2 separate regions of the Homo sapiens genome follow, and region 2 is linked to region 1. The links are contacts of gene promoters, found by promoter capture Hi-C in human tissues and cell types (Jung and others, 2019). All regions are on one chromosome and are shown on one strand. The core of a region is centred on a gene start or on the middle of the fragment in contact, and the rest is flanking DNA. Distances in the headings are between cores, read along the strand shown.

What was found. Contacts are between HindIII fragments. The study calls those that stand out against the background at their distance.
Region 2: a fragment that was not itself captured here is called in contact with the fragment with the promoter of CDH5 in region 1 in 1 of the 25 tissues and cell types used here (spleen).

Annotation. Positions count from the first base shown.
Region 1 is chr16:66,363,023-66,368,789 of GRCh38, reverse strand. CDH5 (cadherin 5) reads right to left here and starts at 2,099. Exons shown (of 12, transcript NM_001795.5): 1 at 2,032-2,099. It overlaps LOC105371318 (a long non-coding RNA gene), which reads left to right. Exons shown (of 3, transcript XR_933687.3): 3 at 3,863-4,610. RefSeq lists enhancers at 140-846, 1,657-2,206. The HindIII fragment of the contact is 33,771 bases long and covers 1-5,767 here.
Region 2 is chr16:66,312,320-66,318,086 of GRCh38, reverse strand. No RefSeq gene overlaps it. Among named protein-coding and RNA genes, the nearest start is that of CDH5, 51 kb to the left of the region's middle. The HindIII fragment of the contact is 5,037 bases long and covers 307-5,343 here.

The sequences.
Region 1 (5,767 bases), core at 850-3,349:
GTGGCATGGACTGTGGGTCAGAAGGAACCGCACTCACCCTGCTTCTACCTTGTGTTGGTTGTGTGACCTTGGACTGGCTGCACAGCTTCCCTCAGCCTCGATGGTCCCATCTGTCAAATGGGAATTCTCATAGTTGCTTCAGTGTGACTGAGGGGGTGCAGAGAGAGGATACAGGGAACAGTCATGGGTCCATGTGGGCAAAATGAGCCTAAGATTCTTCCTGGGATGGTGTCCCCTCTGTCCCCTGGGTGTCCCCAAGTCAGCAGTGAATCATCCAACTTTGCAGAAAATGTGTGGCCCCTGCTGGCTTCCTGCCCTCATGTCCGGCCCTTGTTTGGCAACACAATAGCTCAGGCTGAGGCTGCAGGCGGGCAGCTTAACCCCTTCCAGGCCAGTATACACCTCCCCTACCCCTCACCACCATAAGCTGAAATTGGTAGGGCTGCTCAGGGGCTCAGCAGCTCTTGGGCCCCTTGGTGGATACCTGCTGCTCTCTAGGGCAGGCAGAGGAGAGTCCCAGGCTTCCCACCACCTGAGGATGGACCAGGGCTTCTGGCCCTGGCTCCAGTGGCCTGTGGCAAAAGAGCCTTCCAGGTACACCCTCGACTCCTCAAAGCTGCCTCCCTGGGAATGCCCTTCCTCTCTTGTCAGAATCCTATCTGCCCATCACACATGAGAAACGTCCACGCTGGGGAGGGAGCCTGACATGGAGCAGAGGCCCAGAGGTGCTCGCGATGTCCTCTCACTTGCACCCCCTTCCTCGTACCTGCTGGGCACCTGAGGACCCCTCCGTGATGGGGTTTGACCATACCTCAAGGGCCAAAATCTTTATCACATTCACAACCAGGATCGGCTCTGTGCTAGCTGGTAAATCCAGCCACTATTCCTTAAAGATCTCATGTTATGTGCCATTCCCAGCACCAGGGATGTAGCTCACTTCACTCAATTGACTGAGGAAACACTGTTTCCCCATTTCACAGATGAGACACTTGAGACCTGGGGAGAGCTGGGGCTTTGGAGTACGAGATCCTGGTTCAAATCCCCACACCAGCTCATATGTTTCCAAAGCTCAGTTGCTTTCACTGAGATATAAAGAAAGAATGTATCTACCTTGTGGAGTTGTTAATGGTAAAATAATGAGCCCCACACCATCCCTTGTTCCCCACTGTGGTTTGGAAACTCTGGGTAACTTTCCCAAGGTCACCCCAGAGCAAATGGGAGAGCTGGGATCTGTACCCAGGGCAGCTGTCTCCAGGCCAGGCTCTTGGCCCAGACCTCCTGCTTCTGGGGGACTTCCTGGGCTGTGGGGGCCTTGGGGCTCTTATGCTCTAGCCTTTGAAAGGGTGCTGGTGGGAGGAATGGTGGACCGCTGTCCAGACTACAGCTCCCTTGACACATAGTGGGCCCCGATGGTGTTTGGGCAGGGAAAGGCCCAGAGGGAAAGGCAAGACCTCAAGTGCCCAGAGCCAAGCCTCAGCTTGCCTATCCTGAAATGGGGGCACTGGCTGACCGAGAGGGGCCAAGGCTCGGAGCTTCCTTTTCAGGGCCCCTCCCCAGATCCCAGCATAGAGCTTTAGTGGCGTATGGGTAGGGGGCTGAGGAGGCTGGTGTCAGGCCTTGGTAAATCCTCTCCAGTAAGGGTAAGGCACCGAGGGGAGGCCAAGGCCTGGGTGCCAGTCCTCTGCCCCGGCATGCTGGGCAACTGGGGCAGAATACTGCCCTCTCTGAGCCTGGCACTGATGAAGGCCAGTGGGCCTTTTTGAGTTGGAGAATACACTTCTGGGAGAGCCAAGCCCTTGCCCTGCCCCCCTCAGCCCCGAGATGCCCATTTGTGCCCTTGGCACTACCTCTGGGTGCACCTTCCCCGACCCTGCTCTGAGCCACGAGGAGGCCCAGCGTGCCCTCGAGGAGCCTCTCTGTCATGGGAGTGGGACGATGCCCATTCTACAGATGGGGAAGCTGAGGACCCTCCCATCTTGGGCGCAGGGTGGCGGGTTTGGGGTGGAGGGGAGTGTGGGAGCCCCCACTCACCGTGCCTGTGGGCTGAGGGATGTTTCTGTTCCGTTGGACTGCCTGTCCGTCCAGGGCTGAGCGTGAGTGGAGCTCTGTGGAGCCTGTCAGCCGACCGTCTTTGGAGGGGAGCCACACCCCGCTGGCGAGGGAGGCCTGGCTGCCTCCCCTTCAGGTTTTCCAGCTGGCCCTGGCCCACTTCCCCCTGGGATGGTTTCCTGTTATTGTTCCTTTGTGAGGGCTGGGCTGGCTGCAGATAGGCAGGCCCTGCGGTGGGCGGCTGCCTCGGCCCCGGATGGCTGTCTCCACAGAGGGCTGGCACTGGACCCTGCCTGGGGCACCCCACTTGAACCCCTACTCCCGGCCTCAGCTCTGGGACTCTGAACCCAGCACCTGCAAAGAGCCTGGCTGTGGGGACCCTTGGCTGCAGCATCACATTTAACCCTCCTTGGAATGCTACAGGCAGGTGTCATCACCCCCATTTTATAGCCCGGGAAGCTGAGGCTCAGCGGGTTTAAGGTGCTTGTCCACCCAGCTGGGGTATAAAAGAGCCAAAAATCTAGCTGGGGTCAGCCTAGCCCCAGAGCTTGATTTTCTGTGGTGATCCCATGATGTCTTTGTGGGAATGGACTTTAAAGGTGACAGGGAGGCTTCAGGAGATGGGAAAGGGACAGAAGCTCTTGGCTCTGGAGGACCAGGTTGGCTTCTCCTGGTCAGAGCGGGCATGGACTCCAGCTCTAAGGTGCCAGCCTCGGTCTGTAGGGGATGTTTGCATTTAGGGATATTGGGTGGAGTCAAGTGACCCAGCTCTGCTTCTGATGTGACCTCTGGCCAGTTGTGTCATCCTGGAGCCACAGTTTCCTCATCTGTAAAATGGGGATAATCACAGCCTCATCCTCACAAGGCTTTTGACATAAACGAGAATCAAAGAGGGGCGTGGAAGACAGTGACGCTGAGGCTGGATCAGAGCCCAGAAGAACCAAGAGGCTGGGGGGAAGGGAGGGGCCAAGATTCTGCTGACCAGGAGAGACATAGGAGGAGCTTCTAAAAACTACAGAGGACTGGGCTCACCCCAGATCAACTGATTTGGAATCTCCCAGGGCAGATCCTGGGAATCTGTCCTTTGAAGAGTTGCTTCTGTTTTTCCATGGGTGAATGGTTGGGAAGTCCCAAACTTGTTTTATTATATAGCTGGGCAAGCAGAGACCCTGAGAAAGAGAGGGCCCAGGGCCGTTTAGTAAATCAGAGCACAAGATGGGGAGTGTGATGGAAGGATATTTTTGGAGGAGGAGGGGATAGTGATTCCTCTGTCTCAGGCAGGTTGAGTTTGAGATGCTCGTTAGATACCCAGGTGGAGGTGTCAGGCTGGTGGGGGAGACAGGGGTGAGTCCAGCCTGGAGTCGAGGTTTGGAACCCAACAGCTTATGGCTGGCATCTGAGGCCATGGGCATGGATGAGCTTGGAGGGAGGGAGGACTTGGACCCTCTGACATTTGGGGATCCATTAGAAGAGGGTCCCATGATGAAGGAGGAATGCCAGGAGAGGGCAGAGGAGGAGGGCAGGGGAGTAGTCAGTGGGTCAGCCTGGGGAGCATGAGGGCTGAGACTTAACTTTGGATTTGGAAGATGAGGTCATCAATGACTGTGACCAGAACAGGTTAAACAGGAAAAGGTAGACAAGACAGATTGGAGGGGCTAGAGAAAGGGGAGAAAGGGGGACGGGGATGTGGAGTCACGTGTGACTGTAGCTTCTTCCCCAAGTCTTACAGTGAATGGGAGCAGAGAAGTGGGAGGGTTTTTTTTTTTTTTTTTTTTTTTTTTTTTTAACTATGGCAGCACGCTCATGTCCCCAGGGAGCATCCAGCAGACGGGAAGACAGATGATGCTGGAGACTGAGGAGCGACCTGCTGGAAGGAGAACAGTCCTTGGGGCGGAATTCTGAGTGGGATCCAACACATTCAACAGCCGATTGTGGAATGAACAAACAACAGCTCAGCGCTTCCTTCTCCAATGGGATTAACTCTGCTTTCTCCTGCCCAGAGGGGGGGTTGGCCGCAGAGGAGCCAGGACAGTGCTCTGTCCCCTGTGTTCCAGTCCACATCCCCCTCACCCCCGCCTGTCCTCATGGTCTACGTGCCCATGGGGATACACTGGCCTGTGCATTGCTTCCTGCTGGGTCTCAGACTCGGGGCTGTGGCAGATGGGGACAGGGCCTGTCCTGGCACCATCTGCCAATTCCCTTTGTACTCCCAGTCCATGAGGAAGTTGACTCTGCCCTGAAAACGACTGTTCCTGTGGTCCATAAACAAAGGAATGGTGAGCCAGGCATGAGCTGTGGGCCCCAGGGGTGGGGCTGGGGGTCACCGTAGCAGAGGTAGCTGAGACTGTGGGAGGGAGGCTGGTGCCTCCTTGGTCCCCCTGAGGATTTCATGCCTGATTTCTGGCACTGCCCAGCCTCTGCTCCAACCTCTCTGGAGGCAAAGGAGGTAACAGGAGGGCACAAGGCCAGGAAGTGTCATTGGGAGCAAGGAAGGCGGCTGGTGGGCTAGCAGGAAATGGGATGGTCTGTGAGACCAGATTAGTAGCAGAGGAGGAAGCAACAGTGGAGGCAGTGGGGGTGGGATGGCGGGTGGGACGACAAGGCCTGGGGACGCCCACCTGGCCTCTGCCAGGAGGAAGCCTGACCCGACAGGGAGCGCTGCTTGGGGAGGTACAGGTGTGGGGGTTGCAGACCCAGGTTTGGATCCTAGCATGACCCGTTGCTGCCTGCATGACCTGGGCAGCCGACTTGCCTCTCTGAGCTTCTTTCCTCACCTGTGAAATGAGTTATCTGTTCAGACTTTGCAGGCCGTTTGGAAGATGAAATGAGACAATGAAAATAAATGACAGGACCAGCAAGCCTTATCGAGTGGCTGTTTCTCAAAGTGTGGTCTTCAAGCCATCCATCCTGGGAGAGGGGGAGTGAATATGCAGATTTCTTGGGCCCCACTCCAGGCTGATGGGGTCAGAATGGCTGGTGATAGAATCCCAGGACTTATGTGTTTGTAGCTCCCCAGGAAACGTGTTTGTGTTGTTACATTTGAGGACCACAGCCTTTGTGTCTGCTGCTAATGCACTAAGCTCTCCTTGGGACTCCTCATTCAAACCTCAGGACAACCCTGCGGGGGTGGTACTACTGTTAGGCCCATTTTACAGATGGGAAAACAGAGGCTGGGAGTGAAAGCCTTTCTGAGATCAGAGTTTGTCAGTGGTGGGGCGGAAATTCCGAGCCACGCTTCTGTTTCCAGAGCCCAGCTCCTTACCCAGGGAGCTTTCCTGCCCTGCTGTAATTGAGTCGGGACACAGCAGGGGTTCCCCAAATAAGACTTCCTTTTCCTTCCTCCCCACAGCGTGAGACACCCAAGGATGGGGCAGGAAAACGATGCCATCAGCTTGGCAGGGGCGGTCGTGGTGAAGCCCTGCAGCCTCACGCCTCAGGACTTTGCCCATGCTGTTCCACCTTGTGTGTTTCCTTCTCTCTCCTTCCTCGCCTGTGCGCAGAGCCCTGGCAGAGCCACCCAGATCTCATTGTCTCTACACTCCACTCCCTCTTCTGAGCTCCCAGGGCACTTTATACAGACCTCATTCACAACCCTCCTCTCCTTTCCCACCGGGATTGTGTCCTATTTGGGTGCTTATCCCCAGCACCTGGTAATAGGTGAGTGCTCCCCAAATGTGAACTTGAAACTGTGCACTCATTAGAACCGGCAGTCAGCCCG
Region 2 (5,767 bases), core at 1,576-4,075, 51 kb after region 1:
TTCTTGGACCACTGCAACGCCCTCTTCCTGCTCACTCAATCAACACAATTCTTTTAGTGTCAATCACTGTCCAGGCCAGATTAGGGTCCCAGAATATAGCACTTGCTCAAGCACTGCCCTGCTCTCCAGGAGCTCACAGACCAGGGGAAACGCATGTACACCAATGTTGAAAATACAGAGGTGAGAGCGAAGTACAGAGATGGATGCACTAGGTGTTGAGGAGAGCGGCCAGGAGAAGAGAACCCTTTTCTGTGCCTGGAGGTTAGTGGGGAGGGGACCCCACGGAAGCCTTCTCAGGGGAAAAACCCCTGAGCCAGAGTTTGCAAGCTGAATAGCTTTTTCCCAGCAGACAGCTTCATGGAAAGGAAGTGCATTGTAAAGAGAGGAAAGCCTGCGTGTAAATGTCTGGAGTGGTGACAGTGGACAATGTCGCAGGGAAGGGCACATTGACTGGCATGACTAGTGGGTGGAAGGGTGCAGGGCGGAGGTGAGCTTGGAGAGGCTGAGAAGGTGAGATCATAAGACACCTGCTACGTGAGGTCAGAAACTTGGGTTTTATCCTGAAAGCAAGAGGAGCTTTTGGAGGACTTGAGGATGGGGAGGGCAAGGTATTAAGTGCTCAGAACCCACCTGTGGCAGTTGTTAAGAGGGTGGATGAGGGTGGGTTTCTTTAGGATGAGGCCTATGGGGTGCTTTTCCAGTAGTAGCTGGTCCAGTCCTTACCCAAGGCAGGCAGAGGGTACGGCAAAGAGGTTCTGTCTGCATCTCCTCCCTCACCCAGGGCAGCTGCTGAGAGATCACCGGCCATGAGTAAGAACACAGTCATAGTCACGATCACAATCACCATCTGCACGGGGCAAACTGGTGAGCTTCATGGAGAGAGACATTGTGCCCTTCGGATGGCAACAAGTGGGACCCATGTCTGATGGGAACAGATGTGGTTGTGCATTGGCTGTGGTGAGCGGCTTTGGGATGAACCAGGGGCAAGGCTGGTGAGGTTGGAGGTAGAAGAGTGGACACTGCCTGTTTGGCACCTGGGAGTCGTGTGTGGTCACATAGACATGGGTTTGCTTCTGCCTCTGCAACTTCGCTCTTTGAATAAATTCCTTAATGTCTCCATGCCACAGTCTCCTCGTCTCTCACATAGGGTTCCTAAAAGCCTCTGTCACTGGAGTTTTGGGGGGCTTAAATGCCACAATGCATGTAAAGAAAGCGCTTGGCATGCAATCATGCCCCATGTATTCAGGATTCTGGGCCGTCTACCGAATCACCTCTAAAGCTTCTTATTGCTACTGCTGGCCTGGCCCTGCCTCTGGAAGCAGCCCAGCTGTTGGGCCCCCAGTTAGTGTAAGGCACAGATGTGGGAGCTGTTTTCCGAAAACCCATCACCAGTGCCTGGGCGCCTCCTCCCTCAATCTGCAGCAGCAGCAGCAGCAGCAGCAGGGTCCTGAGAAGGGCCTTGGCGAGGGTTATTTGTGCCTCTTCAGCAAAGGCCTTCCTGCTGCTGCTCTAGTTCAATGAAGATCACCCTCTGGCAGGTTTTCTGGGCCGTGCACAGGCAGTTAAGGAGCTGAAACTCCAAAGGCAATTTCTCCTCAAGGAGCTGTTTTGTGGGTGGTTCACTCTGCACCACTGCCATGGAGATGTTCCCTGCCCCAAGTCTGGCACAATTCACTGAGCCCAGGGCTCACTGGGCTGCCTGGGAGCTCCTCAACCAGGAAGGAGTGGGCCTGGCTCGGACAGAGAGGATGGGGCAAGGTCCTGACTATATTTCCTGCCCAGCCTGCAGGGAGTTGGGGGAAATTCAAGGGAGGCTCAGGCCCTTGAATAGCAGTACCAAAATTGCCCTCAAAAACAGTTTCTAGGTCGGGCGTGGTGGCTTATGTCTGTAATCCCAGCATTTTGGGAGGCCAAGGTGGGTGGACCACGAGGTCAAGAGATCGAGACCATCCTGGCGAACATAGTGAAACCCCGTCTCTACTAAAAATAGAAAAATTAGCTGGGCATGGTGGAGTGTGCCTGTAATCCCAGCTACTGGGGAGGCTGAGGCAGAAGAATGGCTTGAACCTGGGAGGCAGAGGTTGCAGTGAGCTGAAATTGCGCCACTGCACTCCAGCCTGGAGACACAGTGAGACTGTCTCAAAAAACAAAACAAAACAAAACAAAACAAACACTGTTTCTAAAAACCAGACAACTTTCCCTCTTACCTCCATGGCAAAAGGAGATGGCAAACGCTGCTAAATGCCTTAATAAGTGGCTGCTATTGGTTCAATGATGGCTATTAAAAACTATCAATTGTTTAGATACAGGAATATGGAGAAAAATCTTGTAAGAAGCACTTTTAAAGCCCACTTTGTGTCAATAGTAGTGTTGTTAATTTCCAACTTCCAGATCATATCGAAAGCATTGGTTATGAAAGTTCTTTGGGGGAAAAGGTCATTCATAAACATTCAGATTCTGAGTTAATGAATTTTCCATGGGTGTCTGCACAGACCCTCCCTCTGTCACTGACTGCCGTGGGCTGTCTCAGGCTGGGGACTGGTCCAGGAGCAGTGCCCGGAGGTCCTGGCTGGCTGGACTTGACCTTTCTCCTTCTCTGGCCAGAGGCCTCTCTTCCTGCTTTCAAGAAATGACTCCATACTGGCTGGGTGCTACTGCCTCTGATGGCCACTAGGGGGAACCAAGGTTCTCGGCAAAGGCTTCTCTCCCACAGCGTGAAACCCAAGGGGATTGTTCTGCATCAATGACTTTTCCCTCCCAGATTCTGAAAGAGGTGCTGAAACGGGAACCCAGTGGCTGGCTACTGGCCTGGTAGAGGTGGATAGTATTGAAGAAGCCCAATCTAGTTCTTAAAGCACAGTTATTATTTTTTTCTTTTTTTGAGACGGGGCTCTCACTTTGTCACTCTGGCTGGAGTGCAGTGGTGAAATCATAGCTTGTTGCAGCCTTAAACTCTTGGGCTCAAGCGATACTCCCACCTCAGCCTCCTGAGGAGCTGGGACTATAGGCACGCACCACCATGCCCAGATAATTTTTTAATATTTTTGTGGAGATGAGGGTCTCACCATGTTGCCCAGGCTGGTTTCAAACTCCTTTGTTCAAGCAATCCTCCAGCCTCAGCGTCCCAAAGTGGTGGGATTACAGGGGTGAACCACTTTATCTGGCCACAGTCAGAAGACACACAACCGACTTTAGTGTTATTATTATTTTTCTAAATTTGAGACAGAGTCTCACTCTATTGCCCAGTCTGGAGTGAAGTGGTGCAACCTTGGCTCACTGCAACCTCCGCCTCCTGGGTTCAAGCGATTCTCATGCTTCAGCCTTCCAAGTAGCTGGGATTATAGGCATGCGCCACCACACCCAGCTAGTTGTTGTATTTTTGGTAGAGACACGGTTTCGCCATGTTGGCCAGGCTGGTCTTAAACTCCTGGCCTCATGTGATCCGCCCACCTTGGCTTCCCAAAGTGCTGGGATTACAGTTGTGAGCCACTGTGCCCGGCCCACAACTATCTTTAAAATGACCGTTTCCAGGAAACCTTCTAGAGGGGTTCCCATGCCCACCTGTGACCCCTGCCCCAGGTCCTGGTCATTGTCTCTCCAGCAAGAAGGCAGCCGAGGGCTATATTCTGTGGCATCCTCCTCTTCTTCCTGTTCTTTACCCTGCTCTTAACACTTCTCACACCTTCATTTTATTAAACAACTCTGATCTGCAGGGAGCTGTACACTCAGTGCTGTGGGCATGGCACTGGGGGAACTGGAGGCTGATGGGGGAGAAAGAAGTACAAGAAATGACTCCTGCATTCAAGTGCTTTTCACCCAGTTTGGAGATGTAGGAATTTGATTCAAGTCATTGAACATTTGCTGAGTGCCCATTTGAGAAACAGTGGAATATTGGGAAAGAAAACAGATTTGGCAACTGACTTTCAACCTCAGCTTCATCTGGAGGGCCAGTGTGACGCTGTGTTACTGAAACCTGCTGGCTCTCTATTTCCTCATTTGCAAAATGGGGCCAGGCATCCCTAAGTGATCCACAGCCCTGTATCAACAGTCACCAGGGGATGGAAGAGAGAGGCTTTCTTTTCTTTTCTTTTTTATTCAGAGACAGGATCTTTCTCTGTCACCTAGGCTGGAGTACGGTGGCACAATCACGGCTCACTGCAGCCTGGAACTTCTTGGCTCAAGCGATCCTCCCATCTCAGCCTCCTGAGTAGCTGGGACTCCAGGCGAAAGCCACCATGCCTGGCTTATTTTTTAATTTTTTGTAGAGATGGGGTCTCATCATGTTGCCCAGACTGGTCTTGAACTCCTGGCTTCAAGTGATCCTCCTGCCTTGGGAGAGAGGCTTTCTTAACCTCTAGGTAAGCGTCACCTCCTTTGTGAACCTCTCCAATCCCTTTCCCTGCAAGTTAAGCAACAATTTCCTTGTCTGTCTTCCAGACCTTTGTTGTAGCCCAGTTAGAGCTGTCTGGGGTGCACTGCCATTATTTGTCATTGAACTGAGAACTCCATCAGAGCAGGGATGGTGGAGATGCCTGATTCCTGCCTAACTGGCTCACAGCCTGGCACTTTTTCAGGGAATATCAGCAGATGCTGGGATGAAGGGAGAGGTAGAAACAGCTTCCTTCTTTCCCGTGTGGGCCCCTTTGCAGACGGTGGTGCCATTCAGATGTGTGGGGACTCAGGGTATGATATTCGGGTGTGTGCGTGGACACTGGTTGTGGTCTTGGGCCTTGGGGTCACTTTGAGGGAGAGCCTGACTATCGAGCACTTGGCCATAGGGCCTGGGCAGTAGACACATGGCGTTGAACCCTGGAATTCCAGGACAGGATGGAGAAACATTTTCCACTGGTGGCCAAATGGCACTGTAGGTGGATGAGTCCTGGGGGATGCTATTAGGAGTCTAGGCACGGTGCTTACAGTGCTGGGTCACAGGTGAGAAAGAGATCCCTCTGGCATCTCCATCAATCCTGTCTTTTTTTTTTTTTTTTTGAGATAGAGTTTTGCTCTTGTTGCCTAGTCTGGAGTGCAATGGCGTGATCTCGGTTCACTGCAGCCTCTGCCTCCCAGGTTCAAGCAATTCTCCTGCGTCAGCCTCCAGAGTAGCTGGGATTACAGGCGCTCACCACCACACCCGGCTAATTTTTTTTTTGTATTTTTAGTAGAGACGGGGTTTCCCCATGTTGGTCAGCCTGGTCCCAAACTCCTGGCTTCAGGTGATCCGCTTGCCTCAGCCTCCCACGGTTTTGGGATGACAGGTGTGAGCCACCGTGCCCAGCCAATCTGTGAAGGAGGGGTTCGGTGCCAGGGAACCCTCTGGCTCTTACTCCCTTTTGAATGCAGAGCAGAGTGAGCAGGACCAGGGCGCGCCTTTGGCAGGCGACAGTGTTCACTGGCAACTTGTGCTCCCTGTTTTCTTTCCGGCTTACTTTTGACAATAGATACTATTTTTACACATTCCATAGTGATACACTTGTCTCATTTAAATAAATGTATTTAAGTTAAAAAATAAAGGGAGTTTGGGCCAGGCGTGGGGGCTCACACCTGTAATCCCAGCACTTTGGGAGGCTGAGGCGGGCGGATCATGAGGTCAGGAGATTGAGACCATCCTGGCTAACACGGTGAAACCCCGTCTCTATTAAAAATACAAAAAAAAAAAAAAAATTAGCCGGGTGTGGTGATGGGCGCCTGTAGTCCCAGCTACTCAGGAGGCTGAGGCAGGAGAATGGCGTGAACCTGGGAGGCGGAGCTTGCGGTGAGTGGAGATTGC